Linked DNA regions of Homo sapiens: region 1 is linked to region 2. The links are contacts of gene promoters, found by promoter capture Hi-C in blood cells and fetal thymus (Javierre and others, 2016). All regions are on one chromosome and are shown on one strand. The core of a region is centred on a gene start or on the middle of the fragment in contact, and the rest is flanking DNA. Distances in the headings are between cores, read along the strand shown.

Region 1 (5,502 bases), core at 2,396-4,895, 1.4 Mb before region 2:
GCCTCAGCCTCCCCAGTAGCTGGGATTACAGGTGTGTGCCACCACACCTGGCTAATTTTTGTATTTGTAGTAGACACGGGGTTTCACCATGCTGGCCAGGCTGGTCTCAAAACTCTTGACCTCAAGTAATCTGCCCACTTCGGCCTCCCAAAATACTGGGATTACAGGCGTGAGCCACTGTGCCTGGTCAGTAGCATGTTAGAATTAAATGAGCCTTTTGGGAAAATTCAGGTGAGGGTAGGTTACCCAAAGACTATGCAGCCACGTTCAAACCTTTGGTGGTTTATGTATTTATTTAGAGACAGGGTCTCACTCCTGTCACCCAGGCTGGAGTGCTGTGGCATGATCATGGCTCAGTGCAGCCTCGACCTCCTAGGCTTGGGTGATTCTCGTGGCCACCTCAGCCTTGTGAGTGGCTGGGACTACAGAGACACACCACCTCACCCAGCTAATTTTTTTTTTTGTATATTTGTATTTTTAGTAGAGACAGGGTTTTGCCATGTCGCCCAGGCTGATCTCAAACTCCTTGGCTCAAGCGATCTTCCTGCCTCAGCCTTCCAAAGTGTTGGGATTACAGGCATGAACCACCACACTCAGCCCTTTGGTGTTTTTTTTGTTTGTTTGTTTGTTTGAGATGGAGTCTCGCTCTGTCACCCAGGCTGGAGTGCAGTGGCGCCATCTCCGGCTCACTGCAAGCTCCACCTCCCGGGTTCACACCATTCTCCTGCCTCAGCCTCCCGAGTAGCTGGGACTACAGGTGCCCGCCACCACGCCCGGCTAATTTTTTTTTTGTAGTTTTAGTAGAGACGGAGTTTCACCGTGTTAGCGGGGATGGTCTCAATCTCCTGACCTCATGATCTGCCCACCTCGGCCTCCCAAAGTGCTGGGATTACAGGCGTGAGCCACCTCTCCTGGTCCTTAATTTTTAAAGTTTTTGTAGAGACGGGGTCCCACCATGTTGCCCCAGCTGGTCTTGAACTCCTGGGCTCAAGTGATCCTCCTGCCTTGGCCTCCCAAAGTGCTGGAATTACAAAGTGCTGGTGACGTGAACCACCTTGCCCAGCTGTGTACACTCTAAATGGTTCATTTTATATTATTTCTAAATGGTTCATTTTATATTATGTGAATTTCACCTCAATACAAAACTTTTTTTTTTTTCAGACGGAGTTTCCCTCTTGTTGCCCAGGCTGGGGTGCAATGGCACGATCTCGGCTCACTGCAACCTACGCCACCCCAGGTTCAAGCGATTCTCCTGCCTCAGCCTCCCGAGTAGCTGGGATTACAGGCACGCACCACCATGCCCGGCTAATTTTGTGTTTTTAGTAGAGATGGGGTTTCACCATGTTGGTCATGCTGGTCTCAAACTCCCGACCCCAGGTGATCCACCTGTCTCAGCCTCCCAAAGTGCTGGGATTACAGGCGTGAGCCACCGCGCCCGGCTTTTTTGTTGTTGTTGTTTTTTGTTTTTTTTAATTGACTCAGCTTTGGGCTTGAACTGTTAGAATGATGGTGCGTCCATTCAGTGAGATGAGGAAGCTCTAGGGAAAATGAACTTGGGAGTGGGGAATCCCATTTTGAATGTCTTAAATTTGATATGCCTTGTAGGCTTCCAAGCCGAGTTAGATATATGAGCCTGGAGTTCAGAGATGGGGTGGAGATAAAAATTTAGAAGCCATTGGCACACGGGAAATATCTTAAGCCATGGAGCTAGATGAGCTCATTTAGGCCAGAGGTGTCCAATCTTTTGGCTTCCCTGGGCCACACTGGAAGAAGAATTGTCTTGGGCAACACATAAAATACGCTAACACTAACAATAGCTGATGAGCTAAAAAAAAAAAAAAATCGCAAAAAAAAAAAATCTCATTTTTTGTTGTTGTTGTTGTTTTTTGTTTTCGAGACGGAGTTTCGCTCTTGTTGCCCAGGCTGGAGTGCAATGGCCCAGTCTCGGCTCACTGCAACCTCCACCTCTGGGTTCAAGTGATTCTCCTTCCTCAGCCTCCCAAGTAGCTGGGATTATAGGCATGCACCACCACACCCGGCTAATTTTGTATTTTTAGTAGAAACAGGGTTTCTCCATGTTGGTCAGGCTGGTCTCGAACTCCCGACCTCAGGTGATCCGCTCGCCTCAGCCTCCGAAAGTGCTGGGATTATAGGCGTTGCCACCGCACCCGGCCAAAATCTCATAATGTTCTAAGAAAGTTTACGAATTTGTGTTGGGCCACCTTCAGAGCCATCCTGGGCCGCATGCAGCCCACGGGCCGCAAGTTGGAGAAGCTTGATCTAGGGAAAGGGTGTGGGGAAAGACGAAGAGATGGCCCAAGCCCATGCCTCTGGCAGTCCCAGCGTGTCAGTGTCAGACAGCAGACAAAGAATCCAGGAGACAGCAGAAGAGGGCTGGGGGGAAGCCCAAGAGTGAGTGTTTGGAAAACTAAAGAGAGTAACAGCAATCGGTTGGAATTGGAGTGTATCCATTTATAGAGGACTATGCTTAGTGGTACACAAACATAAATTGTGGCGCATCCGTGTAGTAGAATACTATGCATGGTTACACGAAATAAGGAGGAAGTTCTCTATGTGCTGAGATGGGAAGATTTCCTTTGTATGAAATGATTTGCTGACATCCTCACAAAACACTGTTTAATAAAGCAAGGTGTATAACACTGTAAAAAAAAATAAAGAGAGAGAGAAAAATTCCTTTTTTTTTTTTCCTTTTCGAGACAGGGTCTCACTCTGTCACCCAGGCTGGAGTGCAGTGGTGCAATCATGGCTCACTGCAGCCTCCCAGGCTCCAGCGATCCTCCTGCCTCAGCCTCCCAAGTAGCTGGAATTACAGGCACCCGCCACCACGCCCGGTTAATTTTTGTATTTTTAGTAGAGACAGGTTTTCACCATATTAGCCAGGCTGGATCTCGAACTCCTGGCCTCAAGTGATCCACCCGCCTCGGCCTCCCAAAGTGCTGGGATTACAGGCGTCAGCCACCGTGCCTGGCCACAGGACTGGCTTTCAATATGAAGCACAGAAACGTCCTCCAAGGGGCAGGAGAGAAGGACAAGGGCACACACGTCCAGCAAATGCAGATTTCCTGGTAAGAAGCTGAAGAAACAAATTTTATTATTTAACAAAAATGTAGATGATGCTTACTATATGCCTGACCCTGTTCCAAGCACTTTGCAAATACTTCATTTGCATGAAAAGCCTTTGAGGTAGCTACTGTTATATTCTGTCATCCTCATCTTACAAATGAGGAAGCAGGCACAGAGGGCAATCACCTTCCCCAAAGTCACACAGCTGGTAAGAAGCAGGGCTGCTTAAAGGTGGGCAATCGGGCAGCAGAATTCACACTCTTAAACAGTACTCCATAATACTTCTCTGTGCTTGACCTCCTGGGGCTCAAGCAATCCTCCTGGGCTCAAGCGATCCTCCTGCCCCAGCCTCCCAAGCAGCTGGGATCACAGGCTTGCACTACCATGCCTGGCTAATTTTTTTGTATTTTTAGTAGAGATGGGCTTTCACCATGTTGTCCAGGCTGGTCTCAAACTCCTGGCCTCCAGAGATCCTCCAGCCTCAGCCTCCCGAAGTGCTGGGATTACAGGCGTAAGCCACAGTACCCAGTCCTCTGTGCTCTGTTCTTGATAAATGACATTTTATTGTACAGATGTGTTTTATTTTTAGATGGAAGATCAGTGGGTGAAGATTCAGGCTGGTTCAGGGCACTGGGAGTCTTGAGGAGAGAGGAGACTCAGAAGCTGCCGTCTTGGAGAAAAAAACTTACTAGAAAAACAGGAGGACTCCATGTTTGAGGTTTGTGGTGCTGGGTTTTCAGTGAAATCCCAGAGGCTGGCTGAGATTTTTCCTGCTTCGTGGGAGGAAATGGCTTTCGCATGGGAGGGGGAAAGATAAGTATGGCCCAGTTCACAGTCTGTCTGCAAATCCCCAGGCACTCTGGTTCCCCGGTTCTCTCGGGGTCCTGGAATCTGGTGCTGGGTGGCCTGTCTGCCCTTCCAACTGGCCACCTGGTCCCTGTGAGCTGAACTCCAGGAACCCAGCATGGCCAGGCCAGGCTGCAGGGGAGGGAAGGGCCTGGAAGCCTGTTCCCAGGCCATGGCCAAAGGAAACGAGTTACCTTCCAGGAACTGGAGCCCAGAGGCAGGGGTGAGGAGCTGGGGAGCTGGGGGCCTGGAGGGAAAGCAGTGCCCAGAACTTGCAGGGCCTCTGAAGCTGGGCTGGAGTTTGGCTCTGGGCACGAGAGCCAACAGGGCCTGTCATGGGCACAGTCTCCACCCCATGATTTGAGGGCTGAATAATGGTCCTCAAATACAACCACCTCCTAAGTCCTGGAACCTGTAAATAGGTGACTTCATGTAGCAAAAGGGACTTGGAAGATGATCCTGAATTATCTGGGTGGGACCAATGTCATTACAAAGGTCTTTATAAAGAAGGCCAAGCTCAGTGGCTCACACCTATAATGCCAACATTTTGGGAGGCCAAGGCAGGAGGATGGCTTGAGCTCAGGAGTTCAAGACCAGCCTGGGCAACATAGTGAAACCCCATCTCTACTAAAAATACAAAAATTAGCCAGGTGTGGTGGCAAGTGCCTACAGTACCAGCTACTCAGGAGGCTGAGGCAGGAGAATCGCCTGAACCCGGGAGGCGGAGATTGCAGTATGCCAAGATTGCCCTGGGCGACAGAGCAAGACTCTGTCTAAATAAATAAATAAATAAATAAATAAATAAATAAAATTTAAAAAGAAAAGAGGGAGACGAGAGGGTCAGAATCGGAAAAGGGAACGTGCCAATGGAAGCAGGGTTTGGAGTCATGCAAGAAACGGCCCCAAGCCAAGGAATGCAGGTGGCCCCTGTACTCTGGGAAAGGTGAGGACACGTACTCTTCCCTGGAGCCTCCAAAGGAACACGGCCCTGCTCATCCATTCAGACTTGTAACCTTCCGAACTGGCAGCCAATAAATTTTGTGTTGCCTTAAGTTAATCCATTTATGGTAATTTGTTACAGTGACAGAAGCTTGAGACAGCAAGTTTCTTTTTTTCTTTTTTTTTTTTTTTTGAGACAGAGTCTTGCTCTGTCACCAGGCTGGAGTGCAGTGGGGTGATGTCGGCTCACTGGAACCTCTGCCTCCTGGGTTCAAGCGATTCTCCTGCCTCAGCCTCCCAAGTAGCTGGGACTACAGGCACCCACCACCATGCCCGGCTAATTTTTTATATTTTAGTAGAGATGGGGTTTCACCATGTTGGTCAGGCTGGTCTCAAACTCCTGATCTCAGGTGATCCGCCCACCTCAGCCTCTCAAAGTGCTGGGATTACAGGCACGAGCCACCAAGCCCGGCCCGAGACAGCAAGTTTCTTTATCTCCTGGGGACTCTGTTTCTGAAACTGTGAATCAGTGATAACTGAATCCCTGCAGCGTTGTACTGAGGCTATTGGACACAGATACATCAAGTGTTTAGGATGGTTGCTGGCACTCAGCAAGTGCTTGACAATATTAGC
Region 2 (5,570 bases), core at 1,703-4,202:
CTGGCTGGGGTAATCTGTGGAATGGTCTATATCCTTGAACTCAAGGACAGTTCTGGGAGCAGCCACATAGGTGTCACCTAATACGGAATCTCAGGTCTCAACAACACAGACCTGTTGAAGGAGAATGCATTTCAGCAAGATCTCCAGATGACTTATAGGCATATCAGTGTTTGAAAGGCACTGATCAAACACGTCTTAACCATTATGCACTGACCTTGGCCTTGGAACTGAAGAAAGACTTGGGGAATAACTGGATGGGGAGGTGGGAGGAGAATAAACGTGGACTCTCCGTTTCACTGAGTGCTGTATACCCAATCTCACTCTCTACCCAGGGTGATCGCTCCCAGATGGGCACAGATTGGATCCACTTGGCATCCCCCTTGGAGTGCATCAGGCAGAGAATCTCAGCCAACCAGTTTGTTCCTGGAAAAAGAAGGAAAAAAATATATAAAATGTACCATCTCAGCCGGACATGGTGGCTCACGCCTGTAATCCCAGCACTTTGGGAGGCTGAGGCAAGTGATCATGAGGTCAGGGGTTCCAGAATAGCCTGGCCAAGATGGTGAAACCCCGTCTCTACTAAAAATACAAAAATTAGCCAGGTATGGTGGCGGGCGCCTAAAATCCCAGCTACTTGGGAGGCTGAGGCAGAGAATTGCTTGAACCTGGGAGGCGGAGGTTGCGGTGAGCCGAGATCGTGCCATGGCACTCCAGCCTGGGCAACAGAGTGAGACTCAGTCTCAAAAAAAAAAACAAAAACAAAAACAAAAAAAAGTACCATCTCAACCTTAATTTTTTTATTATTTATTTATTTATTTATTTATTTTGAGACAGAGTCTTGCTCTGTCACCCAGGCTGGAGTGCAATGGCACGATCTCAGTTCACTGCAAGCTGTGCATCCCGGGTTCATGCCATTCTCCTGCCTCAGCCTCCCAAGTAGCTGGGACTACAGGCGCCCACCACCACGTCTGGCTAATTTTTTTTTTAATATATTTTTAGTAGAGATGGGGTTTCACCATGTTAGCCAGGATGGTCTCGATCTCCTGACCTCATGATCTGCCTGCCTCGGCCTCCCCAAGTGCTGGGATTACAGGCGTGAGCCACTGCGCCTGGCTTTTTTTTTTTTTTTTTTTAGCGATGAGGTCTCCCTCTGTAGCCCAGGCTAGAGTGCAGTGGTGCAATTATAGCCCACTGCAGCCTTGAACTCGGGCTCAAGTGATCCTTGTACTTCGGCCTCCTGCTTCAGCCTCGCAAGTATCTGAGACCTCAGGCATGTGCCATCGCGCTGGGCTAATTTTTTGAAAAAATTTTATTGTAGAGATCAGGCCTTGCTATGTTGCCCAGGCTGGTCTTGAACGCTTGACCTCAAGCAATCTGCCTATCTTGCCCTCCCAAAGCACTGGGACTGTAGGCGTGAGCCACTGCAGCCAGCTCTCAACCACTTTTTTTTTTTTTTTTTTTTTTTTTTGAGACAGAGTCTTGCTCTGTCACCCAGGCTGGAGTGCAGTGGCATGATCTTGGCTCACTGCCACCTCCATCTCCTGGGTTCAAGTGATTCTCTTGGTCAGCCTCCCGAGTAGCTGGAACTACAGACGTGCGCCACAGCGCCTGGCTAATTTTTTATTTTTAGTAGAGACGGGGTTTTGCCATGTTGGCCAGGCTGGTGTCGAACTCCTGACCTCAGGCAATCCACCTGCCTTGACCTCCCAAAGTGCTGGGATTACAGGTATGAGCCACCATGCCCAGCCTGTCAACCACTTTTAAGCCTACGGTTTCGTAGTGTTAAGTGTTAAGTATATTCCCAGTGCTGCTCAACCAATCTCCAGAGGATTTTTGTGTTGCAAAACCGAAACTCTATGCAGAGCCAGCACCGACTCCCCATTTACCCTTCTCTTCAGCCCCTGGCAGCCGCCAGTGTACTTTCTGTTTCTATGGACTTGATGACTCCAGGTACCTTATGTAAGTGGAATCACACACTATTTGTATTTTTGTGACTGGCTTATTTCATTTAGCATAATGTCCTTGATGTTTATCTCTGTTGTATCATGCATCAGAATTTTCTTCCTTCTCAAGGATGAATAACATTCCATTATAGCTATATACCACATTTTGTTTATTCACTCACCTGTCAGTGGATATCTGGGTTGCTTCCATCTTTTGGCTATTTGCTGAAATCCCTCTTATTATGTTCCCATTGCTCTTGGCCTCTCAGGGCCATGCCACTTCCAATGTCTTCAGCCTCAATCCTCACCGCATCCGCAGTGCTCTTACCGCCCTCCACCCACAGCCCCACTCCCAGAGACATATGATCCTCATCTTTCAGCCCCTTGAGATTGCCTGGCTCTTTTGTGGTTCCTGGCCATTGCCCTGATGATTCTCCTATCTGAAAATAGCCCTCCCCCCAAGTAATTTCATACTCATTCTTTGCATTTCCATTTAAATGCTATTTCTTCTTTCAGGACATCATTGGTCATCCTCAGCCATCCTCCCTCCCACTGCCACCAAACAAACACCTGAATTTGCCTTGGGATTCACTCCTGTGGATTCTCCTAATACCTTAGATTACCCCTCTGAACACTCATCCTACTGTGTAATTTCCTGACTAAATCCTTTTCTCTGATTGTCAATGGTATTAGGCATTCCTCTCTTCCCCTTAAAGCATTGTACACTGTCTGACATAAAGGAAGAACTCCAATCATGCACTGAATGGACAGGAACACAACCACAGCCTTTCTCAGTTCACGATTCTGCCTCCTTACCTGATTTGGGGTAAGTCAATATTATTACATCTTCATCCCTTATCACGAACTCATCACGTACTTTTCTTAAGGTTTCGGATCTGAAACCCATAGTAGGGAAAGCTATGCCTTCAAACCATAAGAAATCGTCCGACATGATGATGACCTCTTCCTGCGTGGTGTGAGGGTTTCAACTGTAGCCACCGCTGGAGGCTGTGGCAGCTACAGGCAGATCAGCTTTTACAGCAAGGATAAAACGATCTTTAACCTTGTCCCAGCATGTCACATGTTTGTTGTAAAGTTTACTTGCTGATAAAGAGAGGTATAATGTGACCCATACTCAAAAGATTGAAGATGTTGAGCAATCATGAACTTATCTAGAGACCATTTTAGGGGTCATCTGAGCTTGCGTTCCTGAGAGTGAACTGCAAGATCGAATAACAAACACGAGGACAAATATTTTTTTTGATAATATGGGTGAATTTATTTCTTAAGGTTTGAGTGCAAACTTAAAAACAAGAACAAAGCTTTTCATCAAGCATAAACACAAAATCTAAATAATCCTGCAATCGTGCATTTTAACAGAAAGTACAAATATGAATACATTATAATTTGTAACTGCATTTAAAAATTAAAATATGTCTCTCCAAATCCAAAAGACCACACAGTCTTTATCTGTTCTCATCTTGTTACCTTAGAAACATTTGTCATATGCTCTCAGGAAAATATAGGCAAGAATTACTAATCAGTTATTCACGATCAAAGAAACATTATTCTCCCTGAGACTTTTTGAATCATTTATCTGTATTTCTGAAGTATCACACAATTATACCTCCACTCTAGAGAAAAAAAGAGTAAGTACAAATATTAGCAGTGTATATATTGTAGTAAATTTTTAAAGTACAACTTTAGTTGATGGCTGACGTGTATGTAATAATTGTGAACAATTTAAACGGTATAAAAATGTGAGATGAAAATCTTTAGACTCAAATACTTGAAAAGTCACTATGAATATGGAAAGATTTGTTTGCATAAACATGTATGTTTTTAGATGGAAAATCAAGAGGTAGTGGCATCTCCCTGTTTCCTTAATAATATTTGGATTTTCACAAAGAATTGGCAGCACCCAACCTTAAGTGTTAATTATGTGTTTGTTTGTTTTTTTTTTTTTTTTGAGATGGAGTCTCACTCTGTCGTCCAGGCTGGAGTGTAGTGGCGCGATCTCGGCTTGCTGCAAGCTCTGCCTACTGGGTTCATGCCATTCTCCTGCCTCAGCCTCCAGAGTAGCTGGGACTACAGGTGCCCGCCACCACGCCCAGCTAATTTTTTGTATTTTTAGTAGAGACGGGGTTTCACCGTGTTAGCCAGGATGGTTTCAATCTCCTGACCTTGTGATCCGCCACGCCCAGCCTAATTATGTGTTTCTAAAGGACCTATACAACAGATCAGTTGGCAGTGTTCTAGCTTTAGGGAGATGGGGGTGGATTGGGGGTGCAAATATCTGAGATAAGATAATGCATGCACTCACACATTTAAAATCACCATTCTAAATGGGAAAAAAAAATCACATATTGGGAAAGTCCAAGAAACTCATTCTTAAGGGATAAACAGCAGGGCAGGAGCAAAAGCTGAATAGAAGTCTACTTGATAATAATGTTTTTTCACTCTTCAAAGGCAAGTTGGGAAGAATGAGAATACTCACATACACATAACTTCAGGGAAAACGTGCCTAGAATTTTACCTTGCAAAACACTGAACAGAAATCTTTACAAAAACCTTCATTCTTGGTCTGGGCACGGTGTGGTGGCTCACGCCTGTAATCCCAGCACTTTGGGAGGCCGAGGCGGGCGGATCACGAGGTCAGGAGATCGAGACCATCCTGGCTAACACGGTGAAACCCCGTCTCTACTAAAAATACAAAAAATTAGCCGGGCGTGGTGGCGGGTGCCTGTAGTCCCAGCTACTCAGGAGGCTGAGGCAGGAGAATGGCATGAACCCGGGAGGCGGAGCTTGCAGTGAGCCGAGATCTCGCCACTGCACTCCAGCCTGGGCGACAGAGCGAGACTCCGTCTCAAAAAAAAAAAAAAAAAAAAGGAAAGAAAAAAAGCCTTCATTCTTGTTTATAATACTTGATTTTTCCCTTATTACCACCCTGTACATCACATTTAAGTATTTTCTTTATAAATATTTTAGAGCAAAAAGAATTTATTTTGTTGCAATGGTGGCCCACATCTGTACAAAACAACCTAAACAAGATATATATGTATATATATATGCATATATATATGCGCATATATATATGCATATATATAAAATGATTAAGAAAAAGTGCAAAGAATAACAGTATTAAGAATTTTTGCATTTTATAGTAACTGTGGTTCAAGCGTGAATATCTATCAGCGATATATAATCCCAGGTTTTACTTTTTAATTTTATTTATTTATTTATTGTTTTGAGATGGACTCTTGCTCTTGTCACCCAGGTTAGAGTGCAATGGCATGATCTCGGGCTCACTGCAACCTCCGCCTGCTGGGTCCAAGCGATTCTCTTGCCTCAGCCTCCTGAGTAGCTGGGATTACAGGCGCCCACCACCACGCCTGGCTAATTTTTGTACTTTTAGTAGACATGGGGTTTCACCATGTTGGCCAGGCTGGTCTCAAACTCCTGACCTCGTGATCCACCCGCCTCGGCCTCCAAAAGTGCTGGGATTACAGGTGTGAGCTACTGCGCCCGGCCAATCCCAGGATTTAATTAAAGATTCAAAAACAAACCACACTCCAAATTACTGCACAAACATCGGTCCCTTATCAAGCAAGTCTGCCCTTCTCCTGA

The links. Contacts are between HindIII fragments. The CHiCAGO score rates a contact against its expected background, and 5 or more counts as called.
Region 1: a fragment that was not itself captured here is called in contact with the fragment with the promoter of SULT2A1 in region 2 in 1 of 17 cell types (total B cells); the score reaches 5.3 in total B cells.

What each region holds. Positions count from the first base shown.
Region 1 is chr19:46,443,957-46,449,458 of GRCh38, forward strand. No RefSeq gene overlaps it. Among named protein-coding and RNA genes, the nearest start is that of PNMA8C, 18 kb to the left of the region's middle. The HindIII fragment of the contact is 2,746 bases long and covers 2,273-5,018 here.
Region 2 is chr19:47,883,363-47,888,932 of GRCh38, forward strand. SULT2A1 (sulfotransferase family 2A member 1) reads right to left here and starts at 2,953. Exons shown (of 6, transcript NM_003167.4): 1 at 2,760-2,953; 2 at 215-423. The coding sequence starts at 2,895. The HindIII fragment of the contact is 7,780 bases long and covers 1-3,263 here.